Linked DNA regions of Homo sapiens: all the other regions are linked to region 1. The links are contacts of gene promoters, found by promoter capture Hi-C in blood cells and fetal thymus (Javierre and others, 2016). All regions are on one chromosome and are shown on one strand. The core of a region is centred on a gene start or on the middle of the fragment in contact, and the rest is flanking DNA. Distances in the headings are between cores, read along the strand shown. Region 1 holds the start of IWS1 (interacts with SUPT6H, CTD assembly factor 1). Region 2 overlaps WDR33 (WD repeat domain 33). Region 3 overlaps WDR33 (WD repeat domain 33). Region 4 overlaps MAP3K2 (mitogen-activated protein kinase kinase kinase 2). Region 5 has its middle 12 kb from the start of SFT2D3.

Region 1 (3,546 bases), core at 540-3,039:
AATTGTTGGCTTTCTGAGTACAAAAATTAGATCTGATGCTTCTTTGCAGGCTTCTAGAGCTAAGAACATTGTTGTGTGTCCAGAGTGTTTCTATCCTTTCTCCAAACCACCAGTACAGTTAGTTTTAACGCTAAAATTCAGTAATTTTCATCCGGCAATTGCATTGTTTATAACCCAACCACTTTCCTGACTGTTGGACTTACATCTCTGGTGAAACTAAAAGGTTCTCTTCCACTGAACCTCCGCCTGGAATTTTGATCTATTAATCCTGCTCCATTTACACAGGTGTACTCTCACCTTCTCTTTAGAAGAGGGCTTAGAGCCTTGATATCTTCTATCAAGTGATTCGGTTTCGGGCATTGCTAATTCTTTGTTCTTTTGATTCTCAAGACTGCCTGAGAAGATGTCATTCCCACAGCTGAAAAGAAGGAATTTGGATTCAATGCTGTTTCCACCACTTCGGAAAGGAATATCCATGAACTCTCTTGCAGGAAAATGGGAATTTCCAGAGAGAAACCACTTCTCCCCTTTCTTCTCTTCCCACGTCCTCTTCAGGAGCCTATAATTGGGCTCTGCCAGCATACTCTGACTGGCTAACGAAGGGTCAGATATCTGCAGTAGTAACAAAAGGCTCTTTTTCTACATGTCTACACCTCCTGGGGAGTCTTTGCTTAAACCTCTACTGGCCCTCCTCCGATCCAAAGGCAAGAATGTTCCCCTCTCTGTCCAAGACTAAAATGAACAAGTAAGGAAATGGATTTTACTCAGCCTATTGCAATAGGGAGAGCACTCCAGATATGATCAGTGTCTTGGCAGCGTAGTTTTGACTTTTATAGGGAGGAAGGTGGGATGATTGACAGTTGGGATTGTTTTGCAATCAGGAGAAGTTTCAGTCAGGTGAACAGGAAATGTTCTCTGTGTCTAACAAGTTGGGGGGAGGAGAGTTCTAATCTCAACTAATCACTCGATATCATCAGCGGGAATTTGGAAGGTCTGTTTGGCTTTATTAACAGGCTCAGAATAAAGGGGAAAGGTCTCTGGCCTTGTCACAGGCAAACAAGGGGGTCATCTGCACGCGTTTTATCTGAGTCACATGGAGACGGGTGGTTCTTTACAGTGTGCCGTTCCAGAAACACAAATAGATGAGGGGGTTTCTTAATCACCGCTGTTTTCCAGGAACACAGGGCTCAGGTAAAGTTCAACTTCACCTTCCTCCGGTGTTTCATCAGGGGAACCCTTCTGGAAGCAAAGACGTGTACTTCTTACTGTTGGCTAAATGGCTTCTTAACAAGGAAATTAAATCGTTGTTTAGAATGAAAGAGAGGAAGACGCCGGGAGAGGAGGCGCTGTGGATCGCGCCAGTTAGTAACGCATCACAGCTCGCGGGCGTCATACTACAAGTCCCAGTGAGCAACGCCCGCTTTCTTGCCTACTGCGGGCGGGAACCAGGCGCCTCTGGGCCTGACGGGAAAGACAGTGGTTTGGCTGAATGACGGAAAAGTCATTTGAGCAGGTCTTCATTTTTCGGAAGAGTATCTCAAAAGCTCTTCAAACAAGGCACGGACACAGAATCTAGGAAATGATAAAGAATCAATGATAACGTTATTACCACGGGGGTCAGACCAGGATCCACCCGAGGAAGGTATTTAACTAAAGCCCGAGTTCCAGCTCAATTTTCCCAGGAGTCTCCTTTCCGGCCGTGCCTGGCGTCATTGCTGTTGCGTCTTCTCATTGGCCGGTTGACGGGTTGCGGCGCCTGCGCGCTGCATTCCTTTGAGGGTCGTGGGCAGACGCCATTTTGGCCCCAGCGGTGCTTCTAGGAAGTAGAACGCCGGCTCGCATGCCTGCCCGCCCGCCAGCCTGCCGGGTACGGCCTTTTCCGCCGGGGCTTCCAGGTCAAAGAATTCGCCTTTGCCGCTACCGCTTTCTTACCCTCCGCACCCGTTAAGTTCTCCGGTCGGGCGGCAGTCTCTGAACACTTAGCCGCGCCATCCGGGGTCACACCGCCTGGAAGGAGGTGACGGGGGCGGCGCGGGGCGCGGACACTCCCCGCTGAGAGTCCGCCTGCCATGGACTCGGAATATTACAGCGGCGACCAGTCAGGTGGGGCAGGGACCTGGGGGACCGGGCTGGGAGGCGGAGCAGTTACTCGGCGGGGCTTGGCCTGGCACCCCGCGGGTGGGGGCAAGGAGGCCCCCCGAAACCTTCCCTCCCGCGACCCGGCCCGAGGAGGGCAAGAGCCCTCTGACCAGCTGCAAGCGTCGAAGCTAGAACGTTGGAGAGGGGATTCTGGTGGGAAAGCTTTCTTCTGAATCGGCGAAGGTTTTTGCTGAAATTGGGAAGTCACTTTCATATGTTAAGCTCCTATTGTGTGCAGGGAAGGAGAGGTGTCTTCTGTTAAGAGAGTTTTCAGTAGTTGAGTAGTTGGAGAATCCAAGGGGCGTTGGGGCGGGGGATCCTTCCTAGACTTTTCACTGCTAGTTAGGAGTGGTTTAATCTTGCTTGCAACACCGGACGTAAGTGCAGGACCCATGTTTCAGTTGCATGCATAGAGTAAGGAATGCGCTTCTGGCACTTACTGGTGGTTTTTGTGCCTTTCCTCCACCTTGAGATCGTTCCTCTTCCTCCTCACCGAAGTTTGGTCTCCTTTCTTTACTGTTTGTTTATTCTGTAAGCTGTTACTGGGGCCCACTCTGCTGGCACGGTGCTTGGCACCTGAGATTAAGGATAAGTGAGGCAGAACCTGGTGTGGGAAACACGTCGCATTTGCTTTCCCTTTGTGTGCTAGTCCTGTTGGGGCGTTCTGTTACAAAAGTTCTTAAATACACCATAAATAAATACACCCTCTATGTACCCACAAAAATTGAAAATTAAAAAGAAAACTTGAGTGCTTAAATAATTGTTTAAGCGTTAAGCCCTTTACTGTTTTGAGTTCATTGCTTTTCCTTACGTAGGACAGTGAATTCTAATGACTGCAAAGCGTTTTCCAGGCATGCACTGCTTAAAAACACTTTCCTAAGCCAGGTGCGGTGGATTATGCCTGTAATCCCAGCACTTTGGGAGGCGTAGGCGGCCGATGGCTTGAGCCCAGGAGTTCGAGACCAGCCTGGGCAACATAGTGAGACCAACACCACCCCCACCCCCCATGCCCGTACCCCACCCCCCTACGCCCCTACCCCACCCCCCTACTTCGTCTCTACAAAAAAATGCAAAAATTAGCCGAGTGTGGTGGCATACACCTGTAGTCCCAGTTACTCAGGAGGCTGAAGTGGGAGGATCCTTTGAGCCCTGAGCCCGGGAGGCAGAGGTTGCAGTGAGCGGAAGTTGCACCACTGCACTCCAAGCCTGGGCGACAGAGCAAGACTCTGTCTCAAAAAAAACAAAAACAAAAACAAAAACAAAAAAACACTTTCCTGATACTTTCAGAATAGTTTTTTTTCCATTCATTTGTGTTTTTAAGTTACTTTTTAAAAAGTAGACCGAGCACGGTGGCAAACACCTGAGGTCAGGAGTTTGAGACCAGCCTGGCCAACGTGGTGAAGCCCA
Region 2 (3,546 bases), core at 569-3,068, 250 kb before region 1:
TCAGGAGTTTGAGACCAGCCTGGCCAACATGGTGAAATCCCGTCTCTATTAGAGATACGAAAAAAATTAGCCGGGTGTGGTGGGGCACGCTTGTAGTCCCAGCTACTTGGGAGGCTGAGGTGGGAGAATTGCTTGAACCTGTGAGATGAAGGTTGTAGTGAGCTGAGATGGTGCCACTGCACTCCAGCCTGGGTAACAGAGTGAGACTGTCTCTCAAAAAGTAAAAAATAAAAAGCTATTAATAAATTAATTATTTTGAGATAGGGTCTCATTCTGCTGCCCAGGCTGGAGTGCAGTGGTGTGATCATGGCTCACTGCAGTCTCAAACTCCTGGGCTCAAGGGATCCTCCTGCTTCAGCCTTTTGAGTAGACGGGACTGGAGGTGAAAGTTTACTTTTGAAGGAGGAGGGTCTCACTGTGTTGGCTGGTCTCCAAATCCTGGCCTCAAGTGATCCTCCCACCTTGGCCACCCAAAATGCTGGGGTTACAGTCATGAGCCTCTGTGCCTGGCCAAAACCTACTTATTTAAACAGCTTCATTGATTATTCTTTAACAGATTGAATGGTCTCCATGTAATTTCTCCTGATTTTTCAGGATTCATATTAATTAAAGTTGGACAATGAAGAGAAAGAGCATGTTGATCATTTTGTTACTGGTCTAGCCTGCCGCTCATGAAGATCCCCTCAAAGTTCAATGACAGATTGGGTATCAAATTTCTTTTAGAGTAGATTGATTATCTTAGAACCTAGTGGACTATACATAAATAATCTAAAACAGGTTTCCAGGCTGAGGTTTTGACCCTGGGGTCAGGAGTGTTAATGGAGGTGGGAATCTTAAAACTTTTTATTATTTTTACACTTTGGGAGGCCGAGGTGGGCGGATCACGAGGTCAGGAGATCGAGACCATCCTGGCTAACACGGTGAAACCCCGTCTCTACTAAAAGTACAAAAAATTAGCTGGGCGTGGTGGCGGGGGCCTGTATTCCCAGCTACTCGAGAGGCTGAGGCAGGAGAATGGCGTGAACCCGGGAGGCGGAGCTTGCAGTGAGCCGAGATCGCACCACTGCACTCTAGCCTGGGCGACAGAGCGAGACTCCGTCTCAAAAAAAAAAAAAAAATCAAAAAAACCTTTTTATTATTTTTAAAAGTCCTATATGAATTGCTAGCTAGTTAATGCATCAATAATTTGCTTTTGGTTAGAATTCTGTTATCTCAGTTTGGGAAAACAAGCTTTCTTGTTCTGATTGGAAGCTCTGATTAGTGGCTGACATGGTAGGAATTGTTGGATTTGATAATTGGATCAAATTCTGGTACCATAGCTACTGTGATCAGCCACAGTATTCATACTGGACAGATGCTATATGTGATCTTCTTTGGCTATGGATATGCAGTGGCAGCAGACATTAGGTGATAATAAACAGAAAATACACAGGAAGGGAATACCTCACAGTGTTACTAACAGCAAGCCCTTGGCTTTCAATTGACAGATTCCTAGGAAGAAAATACTTTGTAAATATTGTGACCCTGTATGCATACACACAAACACAATAGAAACAGTAGTTGCACAAAAACAGTTCTTTCAAATGCGCAGTTCTATCATATGTTCTATTTTTTTTAACTTTTTTTTTGAAACGGAGTCTCGCCCTGTTGCCCAGGCTAGAGTGCAGTGTCGTGATCTTGGCTCCCTGCAACCTCTGCCTCTGAGTTTCAAGCTATTCTCCTGCCCCAGCCTCCCAAGTAGCTGGGACTACAGGTGTGCGCCACCACACCTAGCTAATTTTTGTATGTAGTAGAGATGGGGTTTCACCATATTAGCCAGGCTCGTCTCGAACTCCTGACCTCAAGTGATCCATCTGCCTTGGCCTCCCAAAGTGCTAGGATTACAGGCATGAGCCACCACCCTGGCCCTATTTTTTTTTTTTTTAATTATTAAAATAATGCTGCTTGTCAGCCACATTGATTTCAGGAACCATCAATGGGATGTGATTTCTGGTTTAAAGAAAAAGCACCGCTTTAGGCTCATTCATGATATTTCATGTCAGCATTTTTTTGATGCCAGAGCCTCGCTCTACCCCCAGGAATCTTAGTTTAAAACTCTTTTTACTCATTTGTATGAAGCATTCAGTAAATTCATTTTGTATTGAAGCTGAGGAATTAGTTGAGTGCTAGCTAGGTCATTTTCCTATGTGTTTTAGTTGGAGATCTATTATGGTAAAATAATTCAAATGGTAGTCAGAAATTTGGTTGGTGAAAGATTATTTTGAATTATGTTTGGTTGGGGAAAAATTATGCTGGCCTTGGTATGCTGAGTGAATTAGAGAGCTTTATTTACTTTTTTTTCTCAAGTGTCTCTCCCCTGACACCCCCTGCCCTTGCCTCCCTCACTTTACTCAGAATTTAAGCTTCTTAAGGCTGATTGGTGCTGTAAGTTTCCTGTGCTATATCCCTTGTAATAGTGCCTCTCACACAGCGTAGTAGTGTCTCAGTGTAGTAGTAACTTCTCACATTGTTCTTTTGAGCTCTTCTGTACTGAGAAACGGTCAGACTCTTGAGAACAGAATGTGTGTGTGTGTGTGTGTTCATTGTCTGGCAGGTAGTCAGGGCTCATCAGTTTTTTTGTTTTTGTTTGTTTCTTTTTTCTTTTTTTTTTTTTTCTTGAGATGGAGTCTTGCTCTGTTGCCCAGGCTAGAGTTCAGTGGCATGATCTTGGCTCATTGCAGTCTTTGCTTCTTGGGGTCAAGCGATTCTCCTGCCTCAGTCCCCTGAGTAGCTGGGATTACAGGCGTCAGCCACCACGCCCAGCTAATTTTTGTATTTTTAGTAGAGATGGGGTTTTGCCATGTTGGCCAGGCTGGTCTCGAACTCCTGACCTCAGGTGATCCCACCCACCTCGGCCTCCCAAAGTGCTGGGATTACAGGCGTGAGCCACTGCACCCAGCCAATAATTTTTTAAAATTTTTTTGCAGAGATGGGGGTCTTGCTATTCTGCCTAGGCTTGTCTCCAACTCCTGGCCTCAAGAGATCCTCCTGCCTTGGCCTCTCAAAGTTTTGGGATTACAAGCATGAGCCACCACACCCGGCTCATTTTTAACTTTTATCTTCAGCTATAATTTCAGTATCATCACATGACTAAGATTATACAAGAAGTTATCTTGTGAGCATTTGGGACAAGAAGCAGAATTGACCAGGTGCAGTGGCTTATGCCTATAATCCCACCACTTTGAGAGGCTGAGGTGGGAGGATCGCTTGAGCTCAGGAGTTCTGGACCAGCCTGGGCAACAAAGCAAGATCTGTCTCTACAAAAAATGAAAAAAATTAGCTGAGCCCAGGTGGCACACATGTGTAGTCCCACATACTTGGGAGGCTGAGACAGGAGAATCACTTGAGCTGCAGTGAGCTGTGGTAGTGCCACTGTATTCCATCCTGAGCAACACAGCAAGACCCTGTCTCAAAAAAGCAGAATTATAACGTTGGTATAGACTTGTGCATACAAACATTGACACACTAAGTCTGAGTGTTCCATTCTGTTCAATAGTATAGTCACCA
Region 3 (3,546 bases), core at 296-2,795, 220 kb before region 1:
GTTAAGGTGAGCACTTTTTTTTTTTTTTTTTTTTTTAAGTTTCAGCTACCTAGGAGGCCCTGTTAGGAGGATCACTTGAGCCCAGGAGATCGAGACAGTAATGAGCCATGCACCACTGCACCCAGGCCTGGGTGACAGAATGAGACCCTGTCTCAGGAAAAAAGATATTACTCACTTTCATGTTTTCCTTATAGCTTCAGCTTTATTGTTGATGAGCATTTTCCTGCATCCCTTGTTTAAAGTACCTCTAAATCTAGACATAACCCAGATACTTGGATGTGCTGCCGCCAATTGAAATGATCCTTGATTAACTCCTGCTTATTCTCTTGATCAATTTGGCTGTAAAAGCTTCTCCTCTGCTTTAACAGTTTTTAATGCTTTTTACTTTACCTGAGCCATTTAAAACATTTTACCATGGTCTTGACATTAAAAGCAAAACTGAAGAAATCTTACACCAGCATCATCCAAAGCTGCCCTCCCTGTGAATTATAGTTTTAGAGTCATTTTCTAAGCCTAGAACATTTAGTCTATTTTCATTTCACTGTTAGTATTTACAAGTGTGAATACCCTTCAGTTAAAGACCACTAGGAGTACACCTGTCATAGAGCAGGTTGGATTTATTGCTCATTGCAGCAAAGAACACAGACCGCAGGGAACCATGGGGTGTCCTAGTAACAGGGTGTTATAATGTATTATAGGATTTGGGCTTTGGATAATTTTGGGGGGAAGGTCTAAGGACATGAGGGCTTGCTCTAGATAGGGTGCTGTCGGAAAACAGAGGCAATTCTATGATTGGGTATCAACAGATCTTATAGAGGGGGTCAAGTAGATTGAGGTTAAAGCTGTAATTGGTGAAGAAATAGCTGTCACTCATTCAGCAAGAAAGAGAATTTTGTATTTTGTGGGTTGTACAGTGACCTAGTTTTTTCTCACTTTGCCATGGTCTTGGAGTGACTACTTTTGATATTGACGTTCAGTGAGATTGTCCAACAGGAGCGTGGAATGTTTAAGCTGTACATGTCAGAACAGTTTGTAGTAACACCAAGGCTTAGCTTGAACATCAGATTAGTTCTCAGAGGTCAGGGGCTGCTGCTTTTTACTTTCTTGAACATATTGAAATCCAGACAGACTTGAGGTCAGGATTTAGTAGCAGCGACATGCTCGGCAGGCACAGGTTGGAACCAGCTGAAATGATGCCAGCAGTATGTTTTTACAAAACGGAGCAATTGGGGAGAATTTGGTGGCATGTTAACCAGCATTAGACAAGCAGGATACATTATAGGCAAAAGCAGCCTCTTCAGATAGTACCACTAGTTTTGCCACTGGCGTATAGAATTTTCCCATAGAAATAGAGAATGTCATCATGTATCATCATTGAAATCTTCATAGTTGCTTTTATGCTAACGTTGAGTGCTCATGGGAACCTCAAAATCTTTAAATAAAGGTTTTAGATTGTAAAAGTTTTTACTTTTTTTTTTTTTTCGGTAGAGCAGCGGTAGCCCTAAAATATTGTTGATTTGGACCAAACTGAGGATAAAATGTTTTCAGAATAAGATTTTTCTCCTAAAGACTATTTCACACAGAAATATTTGTTCATTTTAGGTTTTAAACACTGTATGTTAAACTGTTGTTTGTATTTTATTTATTAGGTACAGTACATAATTTCGTATGGAAAAAACAGCATATTCCAGAGTTACCACAGATTTCAGGATTGGTAGATAAATACCATTTGTGCCTGTGTCTAAATTGTGTAGATGCCAGAATTAATTTTCATATAATTTAGACACATAGATTTGTGGTGTATTCTCTTGGTTAAAGTGCCTTGAAAATAAGGCTTTGTATTTTGAAACTAAATCTGTTTGGGCGAAACTCACTTTGGTGATCTCCACAAAATTCACTGGTTTTGATCATCTTCTATAATCGTATATTTACATTTTTTTAAATAACATCCATTTACCAGAATTGATGCTGAATAGTACCAGTTTACTGTGTCTTTTCATAGGCAATGATGAGTGCAAGTCTATTTGTAATAAGTATTTTTTCTATAAAAAGAAGGGTAACTATTGTGTATTGTTAACTTTAAAATGTAATGATAGAAGAATATAGTGTAATTACTGTTTACAGTGGTTAAGTGACAAAGAAGAAATTATTAATGTTGTTAAACCTCCTCTTTAGCTGCTCCAAAATTCTAGTTACAGTGGTAGTTTCTGCTTGGCACAATCTCCGTATTTCCTCTGGGGAACTTTAAACATCACTCAGCTGAGAGTCAGCAAGTTTGGCTTTGAATCCCCGCTTTGCCACTGGGCAAGTCAAGTCTTTCTCAGCTTGCCTCTCCTCGTCTGTAAAGGAGAGCTAATGATACCTACCTCACAGGGCTGTTGTGAGGACCACAGACATACTCTGCACAGTGCAGGATGAAGCAAATGTTTGTTGCTAAAGTCATAAATATCAAGGAAAGATGCTAAAAGACAAGATAGGAGTAAAGAAAATAACATATTTTACTTAATTTGATTTAAGAGGAGATTGGAATTGAGTAGGAAAGGTATTAAAAGAGAGGTATTAAAGGTATTAAGGAAAGGTATTTATGGGAGGAGATTATTGGATCAAAAATTAGTATTGGAATATGATTATCTTTTCAGTAGTGATTTTTAGGTTTAGAAGTGTGATTGATAAAGTTGTAAGCCACATTTAAATAGATAACATTATATTGAAATAGAACTATGACTTCTTTTTAAAGCTTTATTTATGTAAGTCCTCATATTTTATTTCCACTATCATCTCAGAACCACAGGAGTGCCAGAAGGCAATCCTTCACACCCTGCATTAGAGTTGTTCTCTTCATTGCCTTTGCTTGCTTACCTTTTTTTTTTTTTTTTTTTAATTATTTTATGTTTTAGAGACAGAGTCTCGCTCTGTCTCCCAGGCTGGCATGCAATGGTATGATCATAGTTCACTGCAACCTTGAACTCCAGGGCTCAAGTAATTCTCCTGCCTCAGCCTCCTGAGTAGCTGGGACTACAGGAGCTTGCCACCATGCCCAGCCACAGATTGTTTTTTGAATAGATAATATATTTGAATCTTTCTGGAGAACGACGTGCTGTTTTTTGAGTTCTAGTTAGGTAAATTCATGTTGGATGAGTGTAAGACATACCGAGTTACTCTACAGACTTGGAGCATTCTTTCCACTTGTACTTTTTGGTAGGTTTACAATATCTTGAAAAAATATGAAGCCCATAAAGTGGTATGTCTGTGGTATGAGCTGTTTATTTGGACATTTTTAATAGTCATTTTAAGTTGGATCAAAATCAGATACTTCATTGTTAGAAATATTTATATAACCAGCACTTTGGTTGCTTCACAAGTCCTCATTTAATCTGTTTTTCTTCAGTCTTTGATTTTCTTTGTTGCTGTTTCTGTAAAGGAATCATGAAAGAAAAACCATTGTTTAAATACAGTTAAGGGTGAGAAACCTTCACTCCGCCATATTTCTTTGATTTTGTGTTCAGTATGTTGGTTGAAGATGAGAAGTACAGACCAGACACTGGG
Region 4 (3,546 bases), core at 445-2,944, 190 kb after region 1:
TTTTTTCTGGGGTTTTCTTGAGGATTGACATCAAGCTAACTGGTTTTTGTTTTTGTTTTTTGTGTGAGACGAGGTTTCACTCTGTCACCCAGGTTGGAATGCAGTGGCCCGATCTCACCTCACTGCAACCTTTGCCTCCCAGGACTCAAGCGATCTTCCCACGTCAGCCTCCTGAGTAGCTGGGACCACAGGCAGGCACCACTGCTCCCGGATAATTTTTGTATTTTTGGTAGAGGCGGGGTTTCACCATGTTGCCCAGACTGGTCTCAAACTCCTGAGCTCAGATGATCCACCTGCCTTGGCCTCCCAAAGTGCTGGGATTACAGGTATGAGCCACCGCGCCTGGCCTGATCTGTATTTTTAAGAACCTTTTCCCATTTTCTAAAAATTGGAAAACTGCTCCATTTTAGTTTATTTTTCTCATGCTTTCTGAAGGATTTCTGTGAGTGGTTCTACCATTATATTTTGGTGGCCTCTTGGCAGGAATGTGGTAGGGGTGGCATTAGGATAAGATTACATTTAAGATTTCTTGCAACCCTGAGATTCTGTGAGTGAACCGTATCCTGTTTCATATCTTGACATATTGTCCCAAACCAAATGCATGATCTTGGACACTGGGGGTACTAAAGAAAGTCTTACTAGTTTTGTGGACATGTGGTCAGGCAAAAAATTCATTTATACTGCATGTTATTCCACTTCTATAAATATTTTTCTAGTGTAATATTAATTCCTCTGTTCAAAATGAACTGTTACTCTATAAACTTCTAGTTGGCTAGAATTGAAACGTTAAGGAAATTTAAGCTGGAAATATAAGCTGAGGTTGTTTGGATTTGTTAGTTTGGCTTCTCTTTAATAAGGGGTGTGTGTGTGTGTGTGTGTGTGTGTGTTATGAGGGTTGGTTGTGGAGGTGTTCAGGGTGCATGTGTGTGTGTGTCATGGGGGTTGGATGTGGAGGTGTTCAAGCCAAGTAAGGATTTTCTAAGATCACTTCCATTTTAGATGAGTAGAGCAGGAATTTTTTTTTTTTTTTTTTGAGACAGCATCTCCCGCTGTCACCCAGGCTGTAGTACAGAGGCACAGTCATGGCTTACTGGAGCCTTGACCTCCCTGGCTCAATCAATCCTCTCCCCACTCAGCCTTCTAAGTAGCTGGGACTACAGGCATGCACTACCATACCTTGTTAATTTTTGTATTTTTTCTAGAGATGTGGTTTCACCATGTTGCCCAGGCTGGTCTCAAACTCCAGGGCTCAAGCGACCCGCATACCTCAGCCTCCCAAAGTGCTGAGATTACAGGTGTGAGCCACTGCGTCCAGCCTGGAGAACCTTTTAATGGCTGTCTTCATACTTCACTATGTAAATTCAGGAAGATAATTCAGTTCTTTCAGATTTCAGTTCTGTTTAATGGTTCTCGAACTCAATTTTAAGTTTCCTTTCTAGAAAGCATTTATATCAACAAACAACTGATTTATCAAAAATAAGCCAGAGGGTGATAGATTTCATGAATGAGACTGAAATGAATTCACCAAGCCAGAAAACATTATCTGATTTATTTAGTGTAATGTAGATAACCTGGGACTTGTTCATGACTCTTAGTCCTCATTTTACGGTTTGTAATAGGTAACCTTAGAACACAGGCAGGATCACATTAGGTCTGTAGGCAAGTGCCTAAGCTGCTGCACCAGGCACCCCTCCAGGATGTTCACATTTTACAGCAGCAAACTGAAGAGCAGCAGAATCATTTATGTTCATATTTTTTTCTGTCATTTGACTTAGTGTTGTTTTCCCCCAAAAGTAGCAGTATCTTGGAGAAGTAAACAATCCAGTTATAAATGAATAATAAAAGTAAGTATTCAGATTTTCCCCTCAAATGAAAAATCGGCGGAACAGTCATTACCATTGCTTTAAAATGTTTTCCAGTGCTTGAAAAGTAATAGACTATTGAAGATAGAAGCAAGATATACCAATATGTTTCATAATTGGTGGGAAATAGAAATGTGTTTAAGTAGATCAGTAGATCAGGCTTGTTCTATGATACCAAACAGTTAATAATTGTATTTTATTAGAAAAAAATTCTCATAGAGCGAAAAGAGCCCAGTTAGTCGGTCCCTTACAGTAATACAAAATTAGCTACAAACAGAAATTGGGAATATATTTTAACAACAGAGTAAGTAAATGCAAGCAGATTGTCTGATGGAATTCACATAAATCCTTCTTTATATTCGTGTTTGGCAGCCTTTCTTATAACAAGGACTTTTTTGGCTGGGCATGGTGGCTCACGCCTGTAATCCCAGCACTTTGGAAGGCCCAGGCGGGCAGATAATTTGAGGTCAGGAGTTTGAGACCAGCCTGGTCAACATGTTGAAACCCTGTCTCTGCTAAAAATACAAAAATTAGCCACGCGTGGTGGTGCATGCCTGTAAACCCAGCTACTGGGGAGGCTGAGGCAGGAGAATCACTTGAAACCAGGAGGCAGATTGCAGTGAGCTGAGATTGCCACTGTACTCCAGCCTGAATGACAGTGAGACTCCATTTCAAAACAAAAAATCAAAAACCCCAAGGACTTTTTTCACAAAGAAGTCTGCAGAATGAACATACACCATGCCAGCTAGTGGGTTTGGGTTCAGATTGAGCTTTTAACACTGTGAGATTTATTAGACAGCATTTACCAGGTTGTCTGCTCTTTGCTCATTGCTGGTGTAGGGGGTCCTTGTCTTCAAAGAATTTATACTGTAGAGACCCCAAATTAATTCAGCCTTGCATTTTAATGGCTCATATATTGTGCTGAGTAGAGCAGGTTAACTAGTGCAGAATATGTTCACTTGTTTTTATTCTGTTCCTCCTTCAATGAAATGGAATATACTTTGAAGTTATTGACAGAGTCTTCTTAAGTTACTAAATTGACTTTTTTTTTAAAAAAAGGACATATTTTTATTTCTTAAATTGTATGAATTACACTTTTTCTCATAGACCTCTTAGGTGCTTTTGTCCTCTATAACATCTGCTGCATGAGAAGACTAGTGAAAGCAGATTCCACATGCAGGGTTTACTATGGAATAGTTAACTCATTAGCTTATTTGTTTTAGGGTATAGTGGTCAGGTCACTAGGCTCAGAGAGAAGAACTCTAGGTGGGCTGTAGATTGCAGATATGTTACTAGTGGTACCCCTCCATGGCAGCTGTCCTCCATGGCAGGTGCTCAGGATGTTGGTATGTTGAAGAGCACACCAGCTGAGAGTGCAAATTTGTGGTTACTATTGAAAAAAGAACTGAGTTTCATCTATACAGAAGAAAAGTAGTACCTTTATTTCATATGGTCTTTGTCTGTACTTCTTCATTCTTTTTAGGGGCGAACATACTATAACTTAAATTTAGCAATATTATGGAAATATCCTAGAAAATTAATCTTTAAATGTTATTTTCTAGAAGAATGTAATGATTAATAAAGAAAAATTTAAAAACATACATGTTCATTCTAAGATTTTAGTGGCGGTAGAATGAGGAGGGCAAAACAATATACACATACACATTCAGACTTTCATCATAGT
Region 5 (3,546 bases), core at 457-2,956, 160 kb before region 1:
TTGGAGGGCTCAGAAGAAGACAGGAAGATGAGGGGAAATTTGGAACTCCCTACGGACTGGTTAAATGGTTGTGACCAAAATGCTGATAGTAATATGGATAGTGAAGGCCAGGGTGAGGAGGTCTCAGATGGAAATAAGGAACTTAATGGGAACTGGAGCAAAGATAACCTTTGTTACATATTCGCAACAGAACCTGGTGGTGTTGTGCCCCTGCCCTAGGGATCTGTGGCACTCTGAACTTGAGAGTGATGATTTAGGGTATCTGGTGGAAGAAATTTTTAAGCTGCAAAGTGTTTACGGATTGGCCTGGCTGCTTCTAACAACCTACGCTCATATGTGTGAGCAAAGAAATGACCTGAACCTGGAACTTATATTTAAAAGGGAAGCAGAGTGTAAAAGTTTGGAAAATTTGTAGCCTGGCCATGTGGTAGAAAAGAAAAGCTAATTTTCGGGGGAGGAATTCAAGCAGGCTGCAGAAATTTGCATAAGTAAAGAGGAGCCCAAGTGCTAATAGCCAAGACAATGGGGAAAAGGTCTAGAAGGCATTTCAGAGACCTTCGTGGCAGCCCCTCCCAGCACAGGCCTGGATGCTTCAGAGGACTGAATGGTTTTCTAGGTCAGGCCCAGGGCCCTGCTGCCCTGCACAGCCTTGAGACTCTACTCCCTGCATCCCAGCTGCTCCAGCTCCAGCTGGCTGAAAGGGGCCCTGGCCACTGTTTCAGAGGGTGCAAGCCATTAAACTTGGCAACTTTCATGTGGTGTTAAGCCTGCAGGTGCACAGAATGCAAGAGTTTAGGCTTGGGAGCCTCTGCCTAAATTTCAGAGGATGTATGGAAATGCCTGGATGTTCAGGCAGAAACCTGCTGCAGGGGCAAAGCCCTCATACAGAACCTCTACTAAGGCAGTGTGGAAATGTGGGGTTGGAGCCCCCACACAGACTCCCCACTGGGGGACTACCTAGTGGAGCTGTGAGATGAGGACCTCTGTCTTCCAGACCTCAGAATGGTAGATCCACTGGCTGCTTGCATCCTGCACCTGGAAAAGCCACAGGCACTCAAGACCATCCCTTGAGAGCAGCCATGTGGGCTGAACCCTGCAAAGCCACAGGGGGAGAGCTTCCCAAGGCCTTGGGAGCCCAGCTCTCACACTAGTGTCCCCTGGATGTGGGGCATGGTGTCAAATGAGATTATTTTGGACCTTTAAGATTGAACGACTACCCTGCTGGGTTTTGAACTTGCATGGGGCCTGAAGCCCCTTTCTTTTGGCTGATTTCTCCCTTTTGGAATGGGAGTATTTAACCAATGACTGTACCCCCATTGGAAGTAACTAACTTGTTTTTGATTTTACAGGCTCATAGGTGGAAGGAACTTGCCTTGTCTCAGATGAGATTTTGGACTTTTGAGTTAATGCTGGAATAAGTTAACACTTTGTGAGACTGCATGATTATATTTTGAAATATCAGAAGGACATGAGATTTGGGAGGGGCCGGCGGCAAAATGATATGGTTTGTGTCCCCACCCAAATCTCGTGTTAAATTATAATTCCCAGTGTTAGAGGTGGGGCCTGGTGGGAGGTGACTGGATCATGGGGGCAGTTTCCAGTGGTTTAGCACCATCCTCCTTAGTCATAATAGTGAGTTCTCATAAAATCTGGTCATTTACAAGTCTGGGCCAGGCACAGTGACTCACACCTGTAATCCCAGCACTTTGGGGGGCTAAGGGGGGGCAGATCACCTGAGGCCAGGAGTTCAAGACCAGCCTGGCCAACATGGTGAAACCCTGTCTTTACTAAAAACACAAAAATTAGTTGAGTATGGTGGTGGGTGCCTGTAATCCCAGCTACTTGGAAGGCTGAGGCAGGAGAATTACTTGAACCTGGGAGGCAGAGGTTGCAGTGAGCAGAGATTGCACCACTGCACTCCAGCCTAGGCCAGAGTGAGACTCCAGCTCAAAAAAAAAAAAAAAAGTAGCACCTCCCTGCTCCTTCTCTTTTCCTTCTGCTCTGGCCATGTAAGATGTGCCTGTTTCTCCTTCACCTTCTGCCATGAGTATAAGTTTCCTAAGGCCTCCCCAGAAGCCAAGCAGATGCTGCCACACTTCCTGTACAGCCTGCAGAACTGTGAGCCAATTAAATCTCCTTTCTTTATAAATTACCCAGTCTCAGGTATTTCTTTATAGCAATGTAAAAATGGACTAATACACATAAGAATAATGGAGAGAAGTGAGAGAAAGGGACATAAAAATTATTAGAAGGCACAATGGCTGAAAATTTCCCCAAATTATTTGCTTATTTATTTAAAATTTATTAATATTATCATGTTTATAGAAAGAGTCTTGCTCTGTCACCCAGCCTGGAAGGCAGTGGCACAAGCATAGCTCACTCTAACTTTGACTCCCTGGGCTCAAGCATTCTTCCTGCCTCAACCTCCCAAGTAGCTAGGACTACAGGCATGCACCCCAATGCTCAGCTAATTTTCAAGTTTTTTGTAAAGACAGGGTCTTGCTGTATTTCCTAGGCTGGTCTTGAACTCCTAGCCTCAAATGATCATCCCACTTCAGCCTCCTAAAGTCCTGAGCTTACTCATCACCTAAAGGCAAGAGCCACTGTGCCTGACCAATTTCCCCAACTTTGATGAAAAACATTATTCTAAACATCTGAGAAACAATGAATTTCAAGTAGGATGAACACAAAGGCATTCACACTCAGACATATTATAGTCAAATTTTGAAAGCCAAAGATAAAGATAAAATCTTAAATGCAGCAAAAGGAATACAATTCATTGTGTACCAGTAGTACAATAATATTGACAAATGATGTCTCATCAGAAGCAATGGGGGCTAGAAAGCCGTGGTATGACATGTTCAAAGTGCTTAACAGTAAAAACAAAACAACAACAAAAAACCTGTTAACCAATAATTCCATACCCAACAAAACTATCTTTCAACAATAATGGCAAAATAAAAAGCACTCCAAAATAAATAAAATCTGACTGAATTTATTGCTACCAGTCCTGAGTAACAAGAAATATTTAAGGTTTTTCAGATAGAAAGCAAGTGACACCAGAAACTAATTTGAATCCACATGAAAAACAAAAGTGTTGGTAAAAGTAGATAATTACAATATAAAGTATAATTGCATATTTCTTCTTCTCCTCTTAACTGATCTAAAAAGTAATTGCATAAGAAAATATGCATGTAACTTTTTATGGGCTATGCACATATAGGAATGTAATATGTGTCAACATTTTGTCAAAATGTTATTTAACAGTAACAGCACAAAGGAGATGGATGAAAAATTACAGCCAACATCTCTTATGAATATACACAAAAATCCTCAACTAATTACTAGCAGCCTAATCCAGCAACATATACAAAGGATTATATACCACATTGAAGTGGGATTTATCCCAGGAATGCAAGGTTGGTATAATATATTAACATCAATCACTGTAATACACTACATTAATACACTGAAGGACAAAACTCATATGGACATTTCAACAGACATAGAAAAAGCATTTGACAAAATTCACCACTATTTTTTTTT

What was found. The method cuts DNA at HindIII sites, captures the fragments that hold promoters and counts their contacts. A CHiCAGO score of 5 or more calls a contact.
Region 2: a contact is called between a fragment that was not itself captured here and the fragment with the promoter of IWS1 in region 1, in 1 of 17 cell types (naive B cells). The highest score is 5.4, in naive B cells.
Region 3: a contact is called between a fragment that was not itself captured here and the fragment with the promoter of IWS1 in region 1, in 1 of 17 cell types (total B cells). The highest score is 8.6, in total B cells.
Region 4: a fragment that was not itself captured here is called in contact with the fragment with the promoter of IWS1 in region 1 in 1 of 17 cell types (neutrophils); the score reaches 5.0 in neutrophils.
Region 5: a fragment that was not itself captured here is called in contact with the fragment with the promoter of IWS1 in region 1 in 8 of 17 cell types (total B cells, naive B cells, endothelial precursors and 5 more); the score reaches 9.8 in total B cells.

What each region holds. Positions count from the first base shown.
Region 1 is chr2:127,524,732-127,528,277 of GRCh38, reverse strand. IWS1 (interacts with SUPT6H, CTD assembly factor 1) reads left to right here and starts at 1,789. Exons shown (of 14, transcript NM_017969.3): 1 at 1,789-2,103. The coding sequence starts at 2,070. RefSeq lists enhancers at 1,190-1,259, 1,500-1,549, 1,810-1,869, 2,400-2,459, 2,470-2,549 and 1 more and silencers at 1,295-1,468, 2,110-2,219. The HindIII fragment of the contact is 4,097 bases long and covers 1-2,303 here.
Region 2 is chr2:127,777,548-127,781,093 of GRCh38, reverse strand. All of the region lies in intron 1 of WDR33 (WD repeat domain 33), which reads left to right. Among named protein-coding and RNA genes, the nearest start is that of WDR33, 32 kb to the left of the region's middle. The HindIII fragment of the contact is 1,172 bases long and covers 1,233-2,404 here.
Region 3 is chr2:127,745,375-127,748,920 of GRCh38, reverse strand. The region is part of intron 7 of WDR33 (WD repeat domain 33); the gene reads left to right. Among named protein-coding and RNA genes, the nearest start is that of SFT2D3, 46 kb to the right of the region's middle. The HindIII fragment of the contact is 2,389 bases long and covers 351-2,739 here.
Region 4 is chr2:127,330,619-127,334,164 of GRCh38, reverse strand. The region is part of intron 5 of MAP3K2 (mitogen-activated protein kinase kinase kinase 2); the gene reads left to right. Among named protein-coding and RNA genes, the nearest start is that of ERCC3, 38 kb to the right of the region's middle. The HindIII fragment of the contact is 8,106 bases long and covers 1-3,546 here.
Region 5 is chr2:127,687,959-127,691,504 of GRCh38, reverse strand. No RefSeq gene overlaps it. Among named protein-coding and RNA genes, the nearest start is that of SFT2D3, 12 kb to the left of the region's middle. The HindIII fragment of the contact is 6,533 bases long and covers 1-3,546 here.